4 separate regions of the Homo sapiens genome follow, and all the other regions are linked to region 1. The links are contacts of gene promoters, found by promoter capture Hi-C in blood cells and fetal thymus (Javierre and others, 2016). All regions are on one chromosome and are shown on one strand. Each heading gives the region's core, a stretch centred on a gene start or on the middle of the fragment in contact. The rest is flanking DNA. Distances are from core to core; before and after follow the strand shown.

What was found. The method cuts DNA at HindIII sites, captures the fragments that hold promoters and counts their contacts. A CHiCAGO score of 5 or more calls a contact.
Region 2: a fragment that was not itself captured here is called in contact with the fragment with the promoter of CALML6 in region 1 in 1 of 17 cell types (endothelial precursors); the score reaches 5.6 in endothelial precursors.
Region 3: a fragment that was not itself captured here is called in contact with the fragment with the promoter of CALML6 in region 1 in 2 of 17 cell types (M1 macrophages and endothelial precursors); the score reaches 6.4 in M1 macrophages.
Region 4: a contact is called between the fragment with the promoter of PRKCZ here and the fragment with the promoter of CALML6 in region 1, in 1 of 17 cell types (endothelial precursors). The highest score is 5.3, in endothelial precursors.

What each region holds. Positions count from the first base shown.
Region 1 is chr1:1,912,725-1,917,266 of GRCh38, reverse strand. CALML6 (calmodulin like 6) reads right to left here and starts at 2,007. Exons shown (of 6, transcript NM_138705.4): 1 at 1,960-2,007; 2 at 1,532-1,582; 3 at 652-826; 4 at 371-515; 5 at 193-293; 6 at 1-120. The coding sequence starts at 1,986. The coding sequence ends at 74. RefSeq lists an enhancer at 2,500-3,186. The HindIII fragment of the contact is 9,795 bases long and covers 1-4,542 here.
Region 2 is chr1:2,154,157-2,158,698 of GRCh38, reverse strand. It overlaps PRKCZ (protein kinase C zeta), which reads right to left. Exons shown (of 18, transcript NM_002744.6): 10 at 2,607-2,704. Among named protein-coding and RNA genes, the nearest start is that of PRKCZ-AS1, 27 kb to the left of the region's middle. The HindIII fragment of the contact is 978 bases long and covers 1,298-2,275 here.
Region 3 is chr1:2,114,385-2,118,926 of GRCh38, reverse strand. All of the region lies in intron 4 of PRKCZ (protein kinase C zeta), which reads right to left. Among named protein-coding and RNA genes, the nearest start is that of PRKCZ, 66 kb to the right of the region's middle. The HindIII fragment of the contact is 1,063 bases long and covers 1,297-2,359 here.
Region 4 is chr1:2,048,471-2,053,012 of GRCh38, reverse strand. It overlaps PRKCZ (protein kinase C zeta), which reads right to left and starts at 2,602. Exons shown (of 18, transcript NM_002744.6): 1 at 2,312-2,602. The coding sequence starts at 2,382. PRKCZ-DT (PRKCZ divergent transcript) reads left to right here and starts at 2,943. Exons shown (of 3, transcript NR_135509.1): 1 at 2,943-3,145; 2 at 3,347-3,415; 3 at 3,545-3,812. RefSeq lists a silencer at 2,415-3,024. The HindIII fragment of the contact is 10,768 bases long and covers 1-3,728 here.

The sequences.
Region 1 (4,542 bases), core at 758-3,257:
CGGGGGAGTGGGGGCCAGGGGGCAGGGGCAGCAGCCTTCCCGGGCAGGCCTCCCCCGGCTGCGGCAGCTGCACCTACTGGATCAGCTTGAAGGACTCCCCCGTCATCATGGCCACAAACTCTGGGAACAGAGGGGCAGGTCAGCAGCTTGCCCCGGCCCAGCCAACGGCTCCCAGGGCTCCAGGCCACTCACCCTCATAGTCGATGGTCCTGTCCCCATCCTTGTCGGCCTCCTTCATCATCTGCTCCGCCTCCACCTCGTTGAGGGGCTCCCCTGCGTTCATTAGCACGTACCTACGGGGCCTGGCGCTGAGCCACTCCATCGGCCCTGCCCGTGCCCGCCCACCACCCGCCCCCAACCCGGGCCCTACTTGAGTGTGTTCCAGTCAATGTAGCCCTTGCCCTCTTTGTCAAAGACACGGAATGCCGCCCTCAGCTCGCTCTCCTGGTTCTGGGCCTTCTCATGGTAAACTCCCATTAGTGCCAGGAAACCATCGCAGTTGAAGAACCCTTTGTCTGCAAGGGGCACAGCTGGGGCTCAAGGGATGGGGCACAGCACTCCCCATGGGCTTTGCCTCTTCCCCCCGTAGGCACTGACACCTGACCCAGGGCCCCCCCGAGGCTGCCCACCCCACTCCAGCCATGAGCTCACTGTCTCTGTCCACATCCTTGGCCATTGAGGCCAGCTCACTCTTGGTGGGGTTGATACCCAGCAGGCTCATGAGCCACTCCAGCTCCCCCGTCTTCACCTCCCCGTTGCCCTCTTCGTCGAACATCTCAAAGACTCCCTTGTACTCCTTGATCTGCTCAGCCGACAGGCGCTCTGTCTGCAGGGGACACCCGCACCGGCCTGACCAGGAGCCCCTTCTGCCCCTGTGTCCAGGGAAGGGTCAGAGGTACCCCCTGCACCCATTCCTCCATTGGCAGCCTTTCAAGGTGAGTGGTAAGAGAGGAGGCCCCCAGCGGAGAGCAGGCTTCCAGGACAAGGGGTCACACGCCAGGGGTTTGCAGGGCCAGCAGGGCTCTGCCAGGCAGCTAACAGGGGCAAGGGCCAGACAGGCAGGAGCCAGCGTGCGAGGGAACAGCAGCAGCTGCAGGGCCAGGCGGGCCAGGCAGCGGCCCTGGAGCCTGGCAATGGACACCAGGTGAGGCAGGTGAAGGAAGCCGAGAGCAGGGTGGGGAGGAGCCCAGCCCTGGCCCGGGAAAGGCTTCCAGCCCAGGATTGGGATACAGCCCAGGAAGCAGAACCCTGGGCTCCAGCCTGTGTGGCATTCCGGAGGGAGAGTCCAGCACCGGGCCACACCTGCCTGCCACCACTGCTGCTGCCCATCTGGGAGCCAGCTTTCAGAAAGGGCTGCTCCACCCTGGCCCCGGAACAAGGGCTGTGTTGGTGGCAGCAGGGCTTGGCCCCCTCTTCTACCTCAGCCCCTTCCTGCCCAGGCTCCGTGGCAGGTCATTGCACCTCCAGGTTCCAGCTCAACCTACCCAGCCAGCCCACCAGAGACTCCATCGGGCACAGAGAGCAGCCTTACCATGTCGGTGGTTGTCTGACAGGATTCTGCAGGGTGGTGACACCAGGGCTGCTGTGGGCAGAGTGCTGGGGCAGTGGTGGCAGCTGAGTTTTAGCTGGGCCTGGCTGCCTGGGGTCCCCGGGGTCCAGATTCCAAGAGCCTTTTATGGGTGGGAAATCCTGCCGGCCCTATTTTGGGACAGGCTCTCGGCCTTATCCACAGGGCCCCTTCCCGGCCCGCTTTGGCCTGGGCTTCCCCTGACCCTGAAGATGGGCACCGAAGGCTAAGTGCGGGGGCCAGGAAAGGGCTGAGACATGGCGGGACCCTCACACACGCTGTTCCCCGTGCTGTTCCCTCTTCACTGGACCAAGCTCCAAGTCTACCTTCCCAGAGGTGCGGCCCTCCAGCAGGTCTTCATGGGACCCTGGTCCCATGCTGTCATCACTTACCAGTGAGATTTCTTGTTGAAGACCCATCCTGGCCAGCTGGTGCTCAGTGGCTCAGAGCCTGGCCACCCTCCCATCCTGGTGGACTCAACATTGGCCCCGTGCCAGCATGTCACAAACTCTCAGGACAGGTCGAATGAACAAATGCATGAGGCACCGCTTGACCATCTTGTACAGGAGGGGCTGAGGGTCCACCATTCAGGGAGGAGACAGCAGGACATGGGCTGGGGGTGAAGGGGGAAAGGGAGCAAAACAGGGCCTGGGGGCTGGGCTGCCCGCTGGAAGCCAGGCACAGTTGGGGGCTATTTTGGGGTTTCTCAGGGAAACCTGATCTCCCTTCCACTCAGAACAGCAAAGCTGGCTCCCGAGGGGGCCTGGTGCCCAGGCTGGTCCGTATCAACATGCCACCGTGGAGCACACGCCTGCACACGTGTGTTCCCTCCTCAGACCCGCACTGAGCCCTCCCTGTCTGGGTCTAATTACCCACCAGACTCCCAAAGCCAGGGTCCAGCTCCTCCCTGCCCCACCCAGGCAAGAGTGTGAGGATTGCAGTGGCAGGTCAGGGCCCTCAGGGTCACACTCACACCTGCCCCCCGACTGGCCCCTTGATGGCATGAAGAGTCTGAGCAGGTGGGGCACTCAGTGTCCCCCGCCAGCCCAACCCTCTGCCTGCCAGCAAACCTGCAGCTACAGGATGGCTCCCGCTGAAACCCAGGCCAGCTGCTGAGACTGCAAGATTGACGCTGACGAGGGCAGGCCAATGGCCCAGGGCACCTCCAGCCAAACGGGAGCCGGGGCTGGAGGGAAGCGGCCCTGGGTCTGGTGGGGCCAAGGGAGGCCCTGACCTTCATCCTGGCTGCTCCCTGGCCTCAGCTTTCCCCTGGGCTGGGGCAGGGAACAATTCACGCACTGAGCACCTTCCCCCAGGGGCATAGAATGGAGGGAGCCGCAGCACCCAGGCCAGGGCCCATCCTGGGTTCTGGCTCAGGGTCTCCAGGTACAGGCCAGCTGGGTACAGAGACACAGAGAACTGCACTGGCCTCGTGGCCCTGGACAAGTCCCCACCCCAACAACTCTCACAGCCAGTGGACAGCAGGCTCTGCCTCCTCCGTTCCCAGGCTTCCAGCGTCTGACATTCCTGGGCCACAGCCCTGAAGGTTCCAGACATCCTGATGGGCTTACGAGTGAAACTCAAAGCTGTGACCCCTGGAGCCCAACTTAAAGCAGAGGGCACACCCCCCGCCCCGCCCGTAGGAAGGGGCAACATGGCCACAACCACCATCAACCTCTCTCCTCTCCATCTAGGCTTCTACCCATATCCAAGACCCAGTACAAGCAGCAGAACAGGTCCTCGCCCTCTAACCCTCTCTCCTCATGCTGACCAGCCTCTGTGTGGCCTTCGGACATACCCCGTATCTCTAGGACCTGAGACTCATCCAATCTTTATTTTCCTTCTTGTGTCTCTTCTGATCACCGAAGGGCTATTCTCCATAAGAAAACAGAAAAAGAGGCTGGGCACGGTGGCTCACGCCTGTAATCCCAGCACTTTGGGAGGCTGAGGCGGGCAGATCACGAGGTCAGGAGATCGAGACCATCCTGGCTAACACAGTGAAACCCCGACTGTACTAAAAAAAATACAAAAAAATTAGCCAGGCGTGGTGGTAGACACCTGTAGTCCCAGCTTCTCCGGAGGCTGAGGCAGGAGAATGGCGTGAACCCAGGAGGCAGACCTTGCAGTGAGGCGAGATCGCGCCACTGCACTCCAGCCTGGGCAACAGAGCGAGACTCCATCTCAAAAAAAAAAAAGAAAAGAAAAGAAAACAGAAAAAGAGAAAAACCCTGTAACAATTAGAATGCTGCCTCAGCCACGTTCAGGTGCAAGTGCAGTTGTGTTCATGGCCGTACCCAGTTATGCAGCAGATCTCTAGAACCTTTCACCTTGCAAAACGGACCCCCGCCCCCATTAAACAGCATCTGCCCTCTTCCACCACCCCCCGCCCCCCAGCCTATGGCAATCACTATTCTACTTTCTGTTTTTAAGAATTCGACTCCGGGGGCCGGGTGTGGTGGCTCACGCCTGTAATCCCAGCACTTTGGGAGGCCGAGGTGGGTGGATCACAAGGTCAGGAGTTCAAGACCAGCCTGGCCAAGATGGTTACACCCTGTTTCTACTAAAAAAAATAAAAAAATAAAAAAATTAGCCGGGCGTGGTGGCAGGTGCCTGTAATCCCAGCTACTCAGGAGGCTGAGGCAGAGAATTGCTTGAACCTGGGAGGTGGAGGATGCAGTGAGCCGAGATTGCGCCACTGCACCCCAGCCCGGGTGACAGAGTGAGACTCCATCTCCAAAAAAAAAAAAAAGAATTCGACTTTTTTTTTTTTTTTTTTTTTGAGGCAGAGTCCCGCTCTATCTCCAGGCTGGAGTGCAGTGGCGCGATCTCAGCTCACTGCAACCTCTGCCTCCCAGGTCAAGCAATTCTCTTGCCTCAGCCTCCCGAGTAGCTGGGACTACAGGCACCCACCACCAAGTCCGGCTAATTTTTTATACTTTTACTAGAGACGGGGTTTCACCGTGTTAGCCAGGATC
Region 2 (4,542 bases), core at 537-3,036, 240 kb before region 1:
ACCCCTTATACATCTACATCCCTACAAGTTCACATATGAAGAAGAACCAAAGCAAAACAAAACCCTTCTTGGAACCTCACCATTTAGGAAGTGTGGGGGGCCGGGCTGCCTTCCCCTGGGCGTATTCCCAAATCGCAAGGGATGGCAGTCAGGGCGGAAAGAGGCCTGGAAAAGCGCAATGGGAATGCACAAAGGGAGGCATTGACTCACTCCGGGAAGCAGGGGAGCAGAAGGAAAGGGGACAGAGCCGTCAGGCGCAGGCGGTGCGGGCGAGGGCGCCACGCTGAAGCACACGATGGGGCACTGGGGCCTGGTCACCACAAGCCTCGTCCACACGCACAGGAAGCTTGGAATTTACCCCAGAAGCAACTGGGGAGGAGGAATCAGAGGAGCTTTGAGGCAGGAAAAAGACTTCAGATCTGTGTTTCTCAAATATGGCTCAGGCCCAACATGGGGAAGCCAACACTGGGGAGCCCTGGGGTCAGGTGGGGAGGGTGGGGGACCCTGAAACACACTTAGGAGGCGTAAGCAGCCAGAAAACAGGAACCCTTGACCAGGACGGCACCGCACGTAGAGCAGGTCGGGGAACGGCCGGGTCACGCCGGCTCTTCCGACAGACAGAGGTGGCTGCCAAGCACAGGCAAGAGCAGGACCCTGCGGTCAGGAGAGCCAAGAGTGCAGCGGAGGAGAGCAAGTCGCCAGATGTACAGCTAAGAACCGAGCAGCAGAGGGTTGCACCCAGGGCCTAGGACCGCTGTGCTTAGGAAGCCTGGCCCGCAAAGCTGGCCCGGAGCTGGGGCTGGGAACGTGAACTGCAAACAGTTCCCTACACGGATATAACATGCTTCTGCATGACCGCCAGGCAGAGTGGTGGACACCTGTAATCCCAGCACTTTGGGAGGCTGAGGCAGGAGCCCAGGAGTTTGAGACCAGCCTGGGGCGACAGAGCAAGACCCTATCTTTATTTAAAAAAAAAAAAAAAAAAACTCTGGAGGCGGGGCTCAGTCACTCATGCCTGTAATCCCAACACTTTGGGAGGCTGCAGAGGGCAGATGGCTTGAGGTCAGGAGTTCGAGACCCGCCTGGCCAACACAGAGTACTAAAAATACAAAAATTAGCCAGGTGTGGTGGCAGGTGCTTGTAATCCCAGCTACTCAGGAGGCTGAGGCAGGAGAATTGCTTGAACCCAGGAGGTGGTGACTGCAGTGAGCCAAGATGTTGCCACTGCACTCCAGCCTGGGTGATAGAGCGAGACTCCATCTCAAAAACAAGAAAAGCACATTAAAAAAAAAAAGCTTTGGAATAAGAGCTGCTTGCTGTGCCCAAACTGTGTGTGCCTGAACAGGATGCCTTATGCTCGTGATGGTGAATTCAACGGTCACCTTGACTGGGCACGGGACGCCCTAGTAGCTGGCTGTACATGACTTCCGGGCATGCCTGTTGAGGGGGCTTCTGGAAGAGTAAGCAGACGGCCCTCCCTGAAGTAGACTGGCATCATCCAGGCCCCTGGGGACGTGAAGAGAACAAGAAGGAGGAGGAAGGCTGCGTTTCCCTGACTACCGAGCTATCCACCTTCTGGCCCCCTTGCTCCTAGCTCTGAGGCCTTCAGACCCGGACTGGAAGCGACCCCATCAGCTCCTGGCTCTCAGGCCTTCAAGCTGTGCCACTGGCTCTCCTGGGCCTCCAGCCTGCAGATGGCGGATTATAGGATTTCTCAGCCTCCATAATCCCATGAACCAGTATCTTATAATAAATCTCTTTACACACACACACACACGTGCACACAACTGGTTCTGTTTCTCAGGAGAACCCTGACTAACGCAATGCTGAACACCTGCTCTCCACTGGGAGTCTGGAATTTTGGTTCGTGTGCAGCCTGCATGACCAGCCCTTGACAAAAACCATGAGTTGTCACAATTCATTGCTGGAGGAACTGGGAGAGGGCTCTTGGGAGCTTGTGACTGGTTTCTTCTGGAATTTTCCCCATGTGCCTTTTTCCTTGGCCAAGTCTCCTTTATCTCCCCAGTGCAGTATGCCAGCTGTGGCCCCCAGTGCGGCCATGATTGATCCCAGCAGTCCTCCTAGCCAATCATCGAACCTGGGGATGGTCTTGAGGACTCAATGCAGAACATACTTAATAACTCTTCAAATAAACAAATCAGGTAGGTCAAAGTCAACTGGCCCCCAAAATTTTAAACAGGGCATACATTTAATATCCTAGATCATCAGCTTTCAAATGTATTCAAAGCCACAGAATTCCAGTATATATAAAGCTTGAAGGTGAAGCTGTACATATTTTAATAAGCACAGAAATCCACCTCTTTTGCTTACTTTTGTAGCCCCAGCACCTGACCCAATGCCTGCACTCAGTGGGATACCTCCAGTAAGTATTTCGTAAATGGAATTAAATAACTTCAGATCATGAAATGTACTTAATATGACACCAACCAAGGAGAACAACAAAGAGAGTCTGCTGGCCTGAAAACACCCGTACAGCAACTGGGAGAACCTTACAGGTGACAGTTGACACATCACACCAGACTTAGCTTCTGTGCAGTTCACATCTGAAATCTGCAGAATATCAGAAATACCCTTCTTTTTCTTACCGACTTGTCGTCTGGAAGCAGGAGTGTAATCCGACCAGGAAGGGGTTGCTGGATGCCTGCTCAAACACGTGCTTCTCTGTCTGTACCCAGTCAATATCCTGAAATAGAAACCAGGGAGTGGTAATGAGGCTCCCGAATGCTCCTCACAGGCATCCTGGGCAAGGGGGAGGCAAGGGAGGAGTCTCTTTCCTCCGCTTTCAGGAAGACAATGCAGACAGGAAAAGAAAACACCCATTAGGAACTGCATTACCACCATTGTCACCATCCACCCCACCTCTACCACCACCACCACCATCATCATCATTGTCACTGTCATCATCACCACCGTCACACCACTGTCACCATACACCCTACCCCCACCCCCCACTATCATCGTCACTGTCACCATTACCGTCATCATTGTCACCATCCCTCCCACCTCCACCCACCACCATCATTGTTGCTGTCACCATCACCTTCACCACCACTGTCATCATCACCGTCACTGTCATCATCACCACCACCGTCATCACCATCTGCATCATCACTGTCATCACCATCACCACCACCACCATCACCATTGGCACCATCTACCCCCACCACCATCACTGTCGCTGTTACCATCACCTTCATCACCACCGTCATCATCACCATCACCACCACCATCATCACCATCACAACCGTCACTGTCATCACCACTGCCATCATCACCGTCATCACCATCTCCATCATCACCACTGTCATCACCATCATCACCGTCATCACCACCATTGTCATCACCACTACCATCATCACTGTCATCACCACCATTGTCATCACCACTACCATCATCATCACCACCACCGTCATCCTCAATGTCATCACTACCACCACCATCACAGTCATCGCCATCACCATCATCACCGCCATCATCAACATCTTCATCACCACCACCACGTCATCACCACTACCTCACCATCATCACCATCATCACCATCATCGTCACCATCATTGTCACCATCATCATCACCATCATCTTCACCACGATCACCAAAGCTACCAGCTCTGGTTGTATGCTGGCCTCTGGTGGTATACTGGCCTCTGGCCTCCAGGCTTTGCCCTAACAGTTCCAGGAGGCAGGTATTATTATCTCCAGTTAGGACACAAGGAAATTGAGGTGGAGGGCTAAGCAGATTCCCCAAGGTCCCAGCGCTACCGAGTGATAAGCCCACACCCATCACCAGAGCACTAGCTTCAGCCATAGGACTGTCACCCTCCCAATTCATGCTGCAGTTCAGCAAAATGCTGCAAGGTCAAAGTCAACTTTAGAGTGACAAAGATCCAACAGCTTGGTCTCATCTTGACCCCAGAAAGTAGAGCTGGACGAAGTTCTCAAGCCTTCCTAGGTCAACCCCTTGTCTTCGGGGTTAGAAAAATGACAGTGAAAGAAATGCGTCAAAATAGGCTGGATCACAGGGGTGCGATTACTGCTCACTGCAGCCTCGACCTCTGGAGCTCCAGCGATCCTCCCACCTCAGCCTCCAGAGGAGCTGGGACTACAGATACATGCCACACTTGGCAATTTTATTTTTTGTAGAGGCAGGGTCTTACTGTGTTGCCTGCCCCCACTCCCGGAAGTTTCGTGGAAACAAATCAACAAACCATTAGTGAGTATCTATTTAGCCTCTGAGACTGTGTCATTCCTCCTCAGCGCCCTCCTCCTCCTCGAGGCTTGGTCCTCGGCCACCCTCCCTTCTCTTCGGAGGCAGATCCAATGGAGTGGCTTCGAGTCTCATCTTTCCACGCCGAGAGCTCCCAGCCCGGCCTCTCCCTGAGCTGCAGACCTGCCCCCCGACGGCTGCTCAACATGTGCACCCGGGTATCTCACGCCACCCCAGGCCACAAGCCGAGCTCCTCGCCAGCCCGCATCTCCTCCCATCTCCAGTGGCTGAAGACCTAGTGGGTCGGCGGTGACTCC
Region 3 (4,542 bases), core at 579-3,078, 200 kb before region 1:
AATGTAAACGGACTAAATCTTTCATTTAAAACACAGCCATTTTCAGACTGGATTAAAAATAACTAACTTCTGCTTTTAAGAGTCATTTCCAAAATATACAGAAAAGAAAGTGAAAGGATGAAAAAATAGAGCATATAAACACTAAGTCCCCTTCCCTCCCTCCCCTCATCTCACACACACACACACACACACACACACACACACACACACACAGAGCTGGTGTGGTCACACTAACATCATACAGATCAGATGTTAATGACAATAATATTTTCATCTAAAGAGCAACATTTGGCCGGGCACAGTGGCTCACGCCTGTAATCCCAGCACTTTGGGAGGCCGAAGCAGGCGGATCAGGAGGTCAGGAGATCGAGACCATCCTGGCTAACACGGTGAAACCTCGTCTCTACTAAAAATATAAAAAATTAGCTAGGCGCGGTGGCAGGCACCTGTAGTCCCAGCTACTCAGGAGGCTGAGGCAGGAGAATGGCGTGAACCCAGGAGGCAGAGCTTGCAGTGAGTGGAGATGGTGCCACTGCACTCCAGCCTGGGGGACAGAGCGACACTCTGTCTCAAAAAAAAAAAAACAAAAACATTTCATGATGATAAAAGCATCAATCAAAAGGAAGATATGGCCAGGCATGGTGGCTCACACCTGTAATCCCAGCACTTTGGGAGGCCAAGGCGGGCGGATCACCTAAGGTCAGGGGTTCAAGACCAGCTTGGCCAACATGGTGAAACCCTGTCTCTACTAAAAATACAAAAATTAACCAGGCGTGGTGGCACACACCTGTAATCCCAACTACTCAGGAGGCTCAGGCAGGAGAATCGCTTGAACCAGGGAGGCGGAGGTTGCAGTGCGCCCAGATCGGGCCACTGAACTCCACTCCAGCCTGGGTGACAGAGTGAGACTCCAAAAAAAAAAAAAAAAGAAATAATAGGCTAATCTCTCTCATAAATACAGTTGCAAAAACAACAAACAAAATAATAGCAAACTGAATCAAGCAAAATATAAAAAGGCGAACTCATCACAACCAAACGAGGCACACTACAGGAATGCCATCGGTCTACCATTAAGAGCCAATCCATAGAATTCATCGTATGAACAGAATAAAGGAGAAAAGTTCTGTCACATCAATAGATGAAGGAAAAAAAGCATCTGAAAAAATTCAGCACCATTCATATTAACAACTTTCAACTAGGAATAAAATAGAACCTCTTTAATTTGTTGGTGGGGATTTACGAAGGAAAAACAGTATTTCCGCAAACAGCACCCTTAATGGTGGAATTCTTAAAGCTTTTCCCTGAAATCAGGCACGAGAGGATGTGGCTGTCACCACTTCTGTCCCATACTGTTTTGGAAGGATCAACAGTGCCAGGGTAACAAGGCAACATCTGAAGGAAAGGCAGAAACAAACAGCCGGTCACTGACAAAATGGCAGCGCACAGAGAGGTTCCGGAGCAACCACAGACAAACTACGGGGACCAGGAGAGGCCAAGACAAATGAGTTAATCACACTTCTTTACACATTGCTATAAACAAAAAGATAAAAAAAAAAAAACTGTAAAAGTAATACGGCTTAAAACAGCATAAGCACTGAAATACCAGGGAATCATTTGAACAAAAAATGTGGATGACCGCTACACACAAGACTACAAAATATTATTGAAAGAATTTAAGGCCGGGTGCAGTGGCTTGCATCTGTAATCCCAGCACCTTAGGAGGCTGAGGCAGAAGGACCACTTGAGCCCAGGAGTTCAAGACCAGCCTGGGCAACATAGGGAGACCCTGTCTCTACAAAAAAATGCCAAAATAGCTGGGCATGGTGGTGCACACCTGTAGTCCCAGCTACTTGGGAGGCTGAGGTGGGAGGATTGCTTGAGCCCAGGAGGTCAAGGCTGCAGTGAGCCATGATCATGCCACTGCACTCCAGCCTGGGCAAGAGTGAGGTCCTGTCTGCCCCCCGCAACTCCCCTGCCAAAAAAACCCCAATCAAAGGCCTAAAGATATGTTCACGGATTGGAAACCTCAGTATTGTAAAGATGCTAATCTCCCATACTGATCAAGAAATCCAAATGCAATCCAAATGTCTTATGGAGATTTTGAAAGCAAATAAGCCAACTGTAAATGGCTTATTAACAAGCCCATGTGTATGGAAATGTAAAAAGCCAATAACCAAGATAACCTTGAAAACTAAAAACCCCAAATTGGAGACTCATAACACAAGTTACCAATGGTGATTATAAAGCAGAAGAAATCAGAACAGTACGACATGGGGGCAAAAAACAAAGGGGACAGATCAGTCCAGAAAGAGGCCCCACACACAGCCAGGACGCAAAAGCCCTAATTATAAAGTAAGCTTTTACTTTCTGTTCATCAGAAGACACCATCCATGGAGTGGAAGGCGAGCCGCGGAGTGACAGAAGCTGTTTGCAACACAAAAAATCAAAGCACTTGTCTCTAAAACACACACAGCCCCCAGGAACCAACAAAAAAGACGGACCCCCCAATGACATTGTTCTTTGACAGCCCAATTTTGAAATGGGGCAAAAGACTGGAACAGGCACCTTTAAAAGGAGGGTCCCCAATAACCCGGGAGCCTCGGAGAAGCAGCTCACCTCAGCCGTCGCGAGGCCACAGCCTAGTGCCTTTCAGATCTGCTGTGCTGGCGACAACGCAGGGCTCTGACAGTCCATGTGCTGGAAGGAGGTGCATCGGGAATTCCCACACGACCCAGAGTGACTGTGCCATCAACACAGATTCAGCCTTTGTCTCAGTTTCCCAGCGCGCAGCCCCTCTGACCCTAGGAATCCTGGAGTGCGGTAAGAGTGTCTTTTTGCATGCTAATGAGATGACGGGGAGCCGGGAGCCGGGACAGCTCCAGGATGCGGCTGGTCTTCAGCAGGACCAAGGAATGCCTAGCGGGTTGGAACTTTCCGTCCCACAGCCCACGGTCCAGAGAGGAGACAGGAGAGACTGAGGTAATCAGCAGTGGCTGGCTGTTGAATCAACCGTGCCTGTCACGAAGCCTCCACAAAAAGCCCTCAATGACATGGTCTGGAGAGTGTCCGAGTTGGTGAATATACCAAGGTGCTGGAGGGTGGCGTGCCTGGAGAGGGCACGGAAGCTCTGCACCCCCCATACCTCAGCCTCCCGTGCAGCTCCTCCGTGTGGCTGTCCTTTCTAATAAACGGGTACACTAAGCAAAGTGTTTTCCTGAGTTCCGGGAGCTATTCTAGCCCACCCGAGCCTCAGGAAGGGGTCACGGACACCCCCGATTCACAGCCAGTTGGTCAGAATCCAGGTTGTCACCTGGCACTTGCAGCTGGCTCTCAAGTAGGGGCAGGCTTGTGGGAATGAGCCCTTCATCTGCAGGGTCTGCGCTAACGTCAGGTAATTGATGTCAGAGCTGAATGGAAACACAGGACACCCAGCTGGCGCCAGAGTGGCTGTGGGTGCAGAAAACCCCACATAACTGGAGGCAGAAACACAGTGCAGAGTGCGACCTGGTGCGGCCACGCGAGGGAAACGTCTGTTTCCCGGAAACTCCACTCCTGGGTGTGCCCACATGAAAGATGCGCCACGGGCAACAGAAGGCGCTCGGATGTCTGTGGCCAAAAGCCGGGACCCCGGTGCCTCGCAAGATGAGGGTGGATACATAAGACGTGGAGAATTCAGCCAGCAGAGCAGCCCCGCAGTGGGGACGGACACGGCAGAACCGCACCCCACACCACGGGAAAGCCCCACACAGGGGCCCGACTGAGCGGCCACACCCAGGGTGGATGGCCCCGGATCCCAAGACAAAAGCTCGAAACAAGCAAAACTATCTGCAGGCACCAAGGCCGGGGACGGGTAGGTTACGCCTGGGGTCACCTCGGGGTGTGGGGGTGGCCCCGCGTCCAGAGGACAAGCTACACACGGATCAGCTATGTGACGCGGTGCAGTTTGCTTTGTAAAAACTCGTGGAGTTGAACGCTTCAGATTTCATGTTTTAGGGAGTTTTGTTTCAATTTTAAAAAGTCAAGAAAGAAAAAGAAATCAGAGAATGGAGGCACCCAGGCCGTAACATTCTTTCCATAAGAAAAGCTGAAACCCAACGGCAGGCGGCTCCACCTGCTGCATCTTAGCTTTTTCTTTTTCTTTTTCTTTTTTTTTTGAGACGGAGTCTCGCTCTGTCACCAGGCTGGAGTGCAGTGGCACGATCTCGGCCCACTGCCACCTCCACCTCCCGGGTTCAAGCGATTCTCCTGCCTCAGCCTCCCGAGCAGCTGGGACTACAGGTGTCCACCACCACACTCGGCTAATTTTTGTATTTTTAGTAGAGACTGGATTTCACCGTGTTAGCCAGGATGGTCTCAAACTCCTGACCTCGTGATCTACCCGCCTCGGCCTCCCAAAGTGCTGGGATTACAGGCGTGAGCCACTGCGCCCAGTCATCTTATCTTTTTCTTCAGCTTATTTTATTTGCTCTGTAAGCTTAACTTTTGTGAGCTGAACTCCAAAGTCAACCTGCTGTTTGATTATTTTTGTGACTTGTTTCAAAT
Region 4 (4,542 bases), core at 1,353-3,852, 140 kb before region 1:
CCTGAAAACACAGGTGCCTGGGGACCCCTCAGGCCCACAGGGGGCGGGGTGGGGTGGCGAGGATTGGATCTCAAGTGTGCTCAGAGGGCCCTGGGAGGACAGGCAAGGATGACGGGGTGGCCATGCCCCATGGGGGTGACTGAAGTGCTCTTCCTTTTTCTAAAGACTAGTCTTCCACGTGTCCACGCTCAGCTACCCCCACGGACAGCAGCGTCTCACCCCAGGGACAGAGTTTCTAGGGCTTTCAATAACCCAGTACTCATCCTGGCAGCCGCTTTCTGGAACTGTGTCATTGCCCTAAGGCCTGAGTGTCCCACCCCACAGCCAGTCCCCTCAGAGAGGCACCGGGTGCCCAGAGGGACGAGGAGCCAGAACGGGGAGAAGGGTACTTCACACTCTGCAGCAGAGAGGAGGAGGACCTGGGAGGGGAGAGAGGAGAGAAGGAATGGTAGGAGCAGGGAAGAGCCAGAGGGGAGACGTGCCCTAGAAGGGGGAGGAAGGTGAAGGAAGAGGTGTGGCAGGGAAGGGAGAGAGGGGAGAGCGGGAAGAGGAGGGAAAACAACAGGGAAGGAGGGAGGAAGAGGAAGGGGTGGGGAGAGAGGGGAGAGAGTCCGGGAAGGGAGGGAAGAGGAAGGGGTGGGAGCCTGGTCTCTCCAGCCTGGGAAACCAGAGTCACCGGGTGGAATTACACCCGCCCCACCACCAAAGTGCTCCCAGGGGCCAAAGCAAGGCAGAGGGAGGACGGGGCGGCCCAGAACTCCAGTGGCATTGCCTCCGAGCCTTGGTCCCAGGAATTGGACGCCGGAATGCAGGAGGGTCTGGGCCCCTGCAGCCCCTCGGGTGTGGACCTCCCTCTCGCAGGACTCCCCTGAGCTCCGCACCATCACCTGTTGCCCAGTGTGGTGGCTCCAGAATGGCAAGGAGACAGGAAGCCCAGGTCCCTGGACAAGTCCAATAGCCAGAACGTCAACCATACCAAGTTTTAACCTGCTGACCTCCAGGCCAAAAGACATGGCTGCCCTACCTCTTCAGGTAGGGCTGGACGGTCAGTCCCCCAGAAATCCCTTTCTTCTGGTTCTGGCACCAAACCCGGGCCACTGCACCCCGAAGGTTCCAGGTGCTTGCCACAGGGGAGCTGCAGAGGCCCCAACCTTCCCAAAGAAGAGACAATTGAGCCTCCTCAACAAACCCGGGGCCAAGCAGCCCCAGATGGCTGACCCGAGACCCCAAGACAAGGTTCGCAGGAAGCTGAACCCGCTCAGACTCGCAGGGCACCATAGAGACCCCCGGGGCACTGTCCTGAGAGGACGTGGCCCGGGGAAGTTGTCACCCGCCTAACCCTGCCGGCCGTCCCTGCCTCTGGGGCTCAGGTTGCCCACGCTGTAGCTGAGGACGCACCGGGGCAGGAGCAGCTTTTCGAGATCCCAAGGACCAGCCAGTGCAAGTCCGGAGCCCGCATTCTGCTCCCCTCCCTCTCTGCAGCAGCAGCCACCCTCGCGGGAGCGGAGGTCCCAGTTCGGGGCTCCTGGAGACGCGCACAGGTGGAAGAACAAACCCACGGGTCCTCCCCTCCCCACCGCCCACACTTCGGGGGGCAGCGACCCCTCCGCTGTGCCTGTGAGCCCGGCCACCTGGTGCAGCCCCCGCCACCCCCAGCAGCGCTGCCCCGAGGCGGCGGCCAAGAGTCCAGGACCCCTCCGCTCCAGCACCTGACCGCGCCCCCTCCCACAGCCAGGCAAGGGCCTCCGGGGGGCGGGTGCGACGCAAACCCCAGGGTCAGTCTCGGCCCCACCGTCTCCTCCAGAAACCCCTGTCCCCGCCCGACCGCCCCGAGCCCTGCCGGGGGCTGCATTGGAGCCACAGCGCCCGCGCCCCGGGTCTCCGGATTTTGGCTAAAGCGAGACCCCCGACCGGGTAAACGTGGAGAACGTTTAGGAAACGCTGATTTTAAGAAACCCGCCAGGAGTTTTCACAACTTGATGAAAACTTTCAGTCCTTACAGGTTTGCGGCCGGAACGTCCCCGCCCAACTTTCCAGCGAAAACGTCTACCACAATGACCGGGCCGAGGAGCTCGCGGCGCGGGGCCGACCCCAGGGAAACCCGGTCCCGGGGAAGGAGCCCGCGCTGTCCACGACGTGTCCGCGGGTGACGCTCACGGGCGGGGACCGAGGACCTCCCGCGACAGCCCCGGGCCCGCAGCGACCTCGCCGCCCCTTCCCTCTCTCCCTCTCGCGCAGGAGCCCCGACGGCTGAGCCCTCCCCGCCCTCCCTGCCTCACCCGCGCCGCTCCCCGCCCTCTCCGCCGCTCACCCCCCGTAATGCGCCTTGAGGCGGACGCGGCCGCCGCTCCCTTCCATCTTGGGGCCGGTCCTGCTGGGCATGGCGCGCTCCCCCCGCCGCCGTCAGCGCTGCGCCCCGGGAGCTCCGGCCATGGCGCGGGGCGGGGGCTCCAGGTGGGGCCGCGGCGGAACGCGGAAGGCAGCGCTCAGGACCGACGGCGCCGACCCGGTCAACTCCGCGGAACTCCGGCGGCGCGCGGGGCGGGAGCGGGGGGCGCGCGGGGCGGGACCGTCCGGCGGGGGCGGGGGGCGGTGTCCGAACATGGCGGACCGAGGTGGAGCCAGCGGCCAATCCGCGGGGCGGGCGGTCCCGGGGCGGGCGGTGGCACCTGCGGCCAATGAGGGCGAGGCGGGGCCGCCACCTGGGCCAATCCTCGGGGGACACCCGGCCGCGGCCCAATGGCGAGGCGCGGGCGGGGCTACCTGTCGGGCGGGGCTACCTGTTGGGCGGGGCGCGGCGCACCTGCGCCAATGGGACCGCGCGCGGCGCGGCTCTGCCCGGCAACCGGAGGGGCCCCGGCCTCTGGGACGGAGCGGCGCCCCCGGGAACTCGCTGGAAACGCGAGTTCTCGGCCTTCGCCCAGACCCTCCGAATCGAAACTCCTGCGGCGCGCGCTGCCAGCCCGAGGGCCCCGCCGTCCAGGGGTCCCCTGACATCTCACACTTGCGGACTGAAGCTGCGAGGAGCGGAGAACCCGGCCAGGGTCACGGACGGGAGCGTCCGGACTCGGGTTCTCTGGGCCCCAGCCCCCACTCCGCCCCCAGCGAATCCAAGGTCCCCTGTAGGGAAGGGCCGTCCACACTCGTGAGTGCAACCGCTCACTTCGCCCAGGTCAAGGACGCGGCATTGGCCCGAGTCGCCCATGACCTTCATTTCTGAAGCCACAGCCTCTCGGGCCTTACTCGAGGGGCTTGATCTGGACAATCGCCCTCCAGGCCCCTCCACCGCCGCCCAGCTCCCTGCCTCCTGGGCTCCTCCCCTGAAAATACGGTTTTCCCTGATCAGCCCATCCCTTACTGGCTGCATCCACTGAAGCCCAGACCTGCTGCCTGCAGGACCTCACCCAGGCACCAGGTGGACACCCAGACCCAGTTCCTGGCCTCGGCCCCTCTCCCCTGAGAGTGGACCTGCTCAGGCCACGCCCTCACACCCCTCACCCAGACACAGCCACCAGGACTTCAGCCACGTGCTTTCATCCCGCAGGTCGTGCCTGGCGCCTCCTTGATGCCAGGCCCTGGGGAGACCTGTGGCCACAGAACCCATGTTCTCCCTGGAGATGGACAGGAGGCCCCTCTCCTACGCAGAAGCTGTCGTTTTTTCTTCTTAAACACCGTTTGCCCCTCCCTCCACCCACCGAGCCATCTCTGCCCCTCTCTACAGCAAAGCTTCCGCCAAGCCGGCCCTGCTCCCTGTCTACCTCTCCTGCCACCACCCACTCACACGTTTTAAATACAAGCCGTCGGTTCTCAGACGTTTTCTCTTTTTTTCTTTCTTTTTCTTTTTTTTGAGATGGAGTTTCGCTCTTGCTGCCCAGGCTGAGTGCAATGGCATGATGTCGGCTCACTGCAACTTCTGCCTCCTGGGTTCAAACCATTCTCCTGCCTCAGTCTCCCAAGTAGCTGGGATTACAGGTGTCCACCACCATGCCCAGCTGATTTTTGTATTTTTAGTAGAGACGGGGTTTTTCCATATTGGCCAGGCTGGTCTCGAACTCCTGACCTCAGGTGATCCACCTGCCTTGGCTTCCCAAAGTGCTGGGATTACAGGCGTGAGCCACTGTGCCCGGCCTCAGACATTTTCTTAACTTGGCCTTTGGTATCAGACCCCTCCTGGGAAGGCTCACACATCCCTGGCCCCGGGTTCCAGCTCCCTAAATCTCCCATCCCTCGCCCTCCTGGTCTGCAGCTTTTAAAACTGTGGAGCCCCAGCCTCAGCCTTTGGCCCGCTTTGCATCCCCAGCTCAGATGGGCCCCCTGAGCTCCCAACCAACACTCACCCAGCCCCAGGCATCCTCCTAATGAGCCTCTCAGCTGACGTCTTCCCCCACTCCATCTTTCTGGGTCATCGAAGTCCCCCCAGTGGTTCCCATCACTCCTGGAGGGAAGGCCAGCTCCTCTGCCCCGGCCTCGAGGCCTCTTTGCTGCCCCGGCCTCCGTCTTTGCACGGCCACTCCCTCTTTGCACAGCCACTCCCTCTTCCAG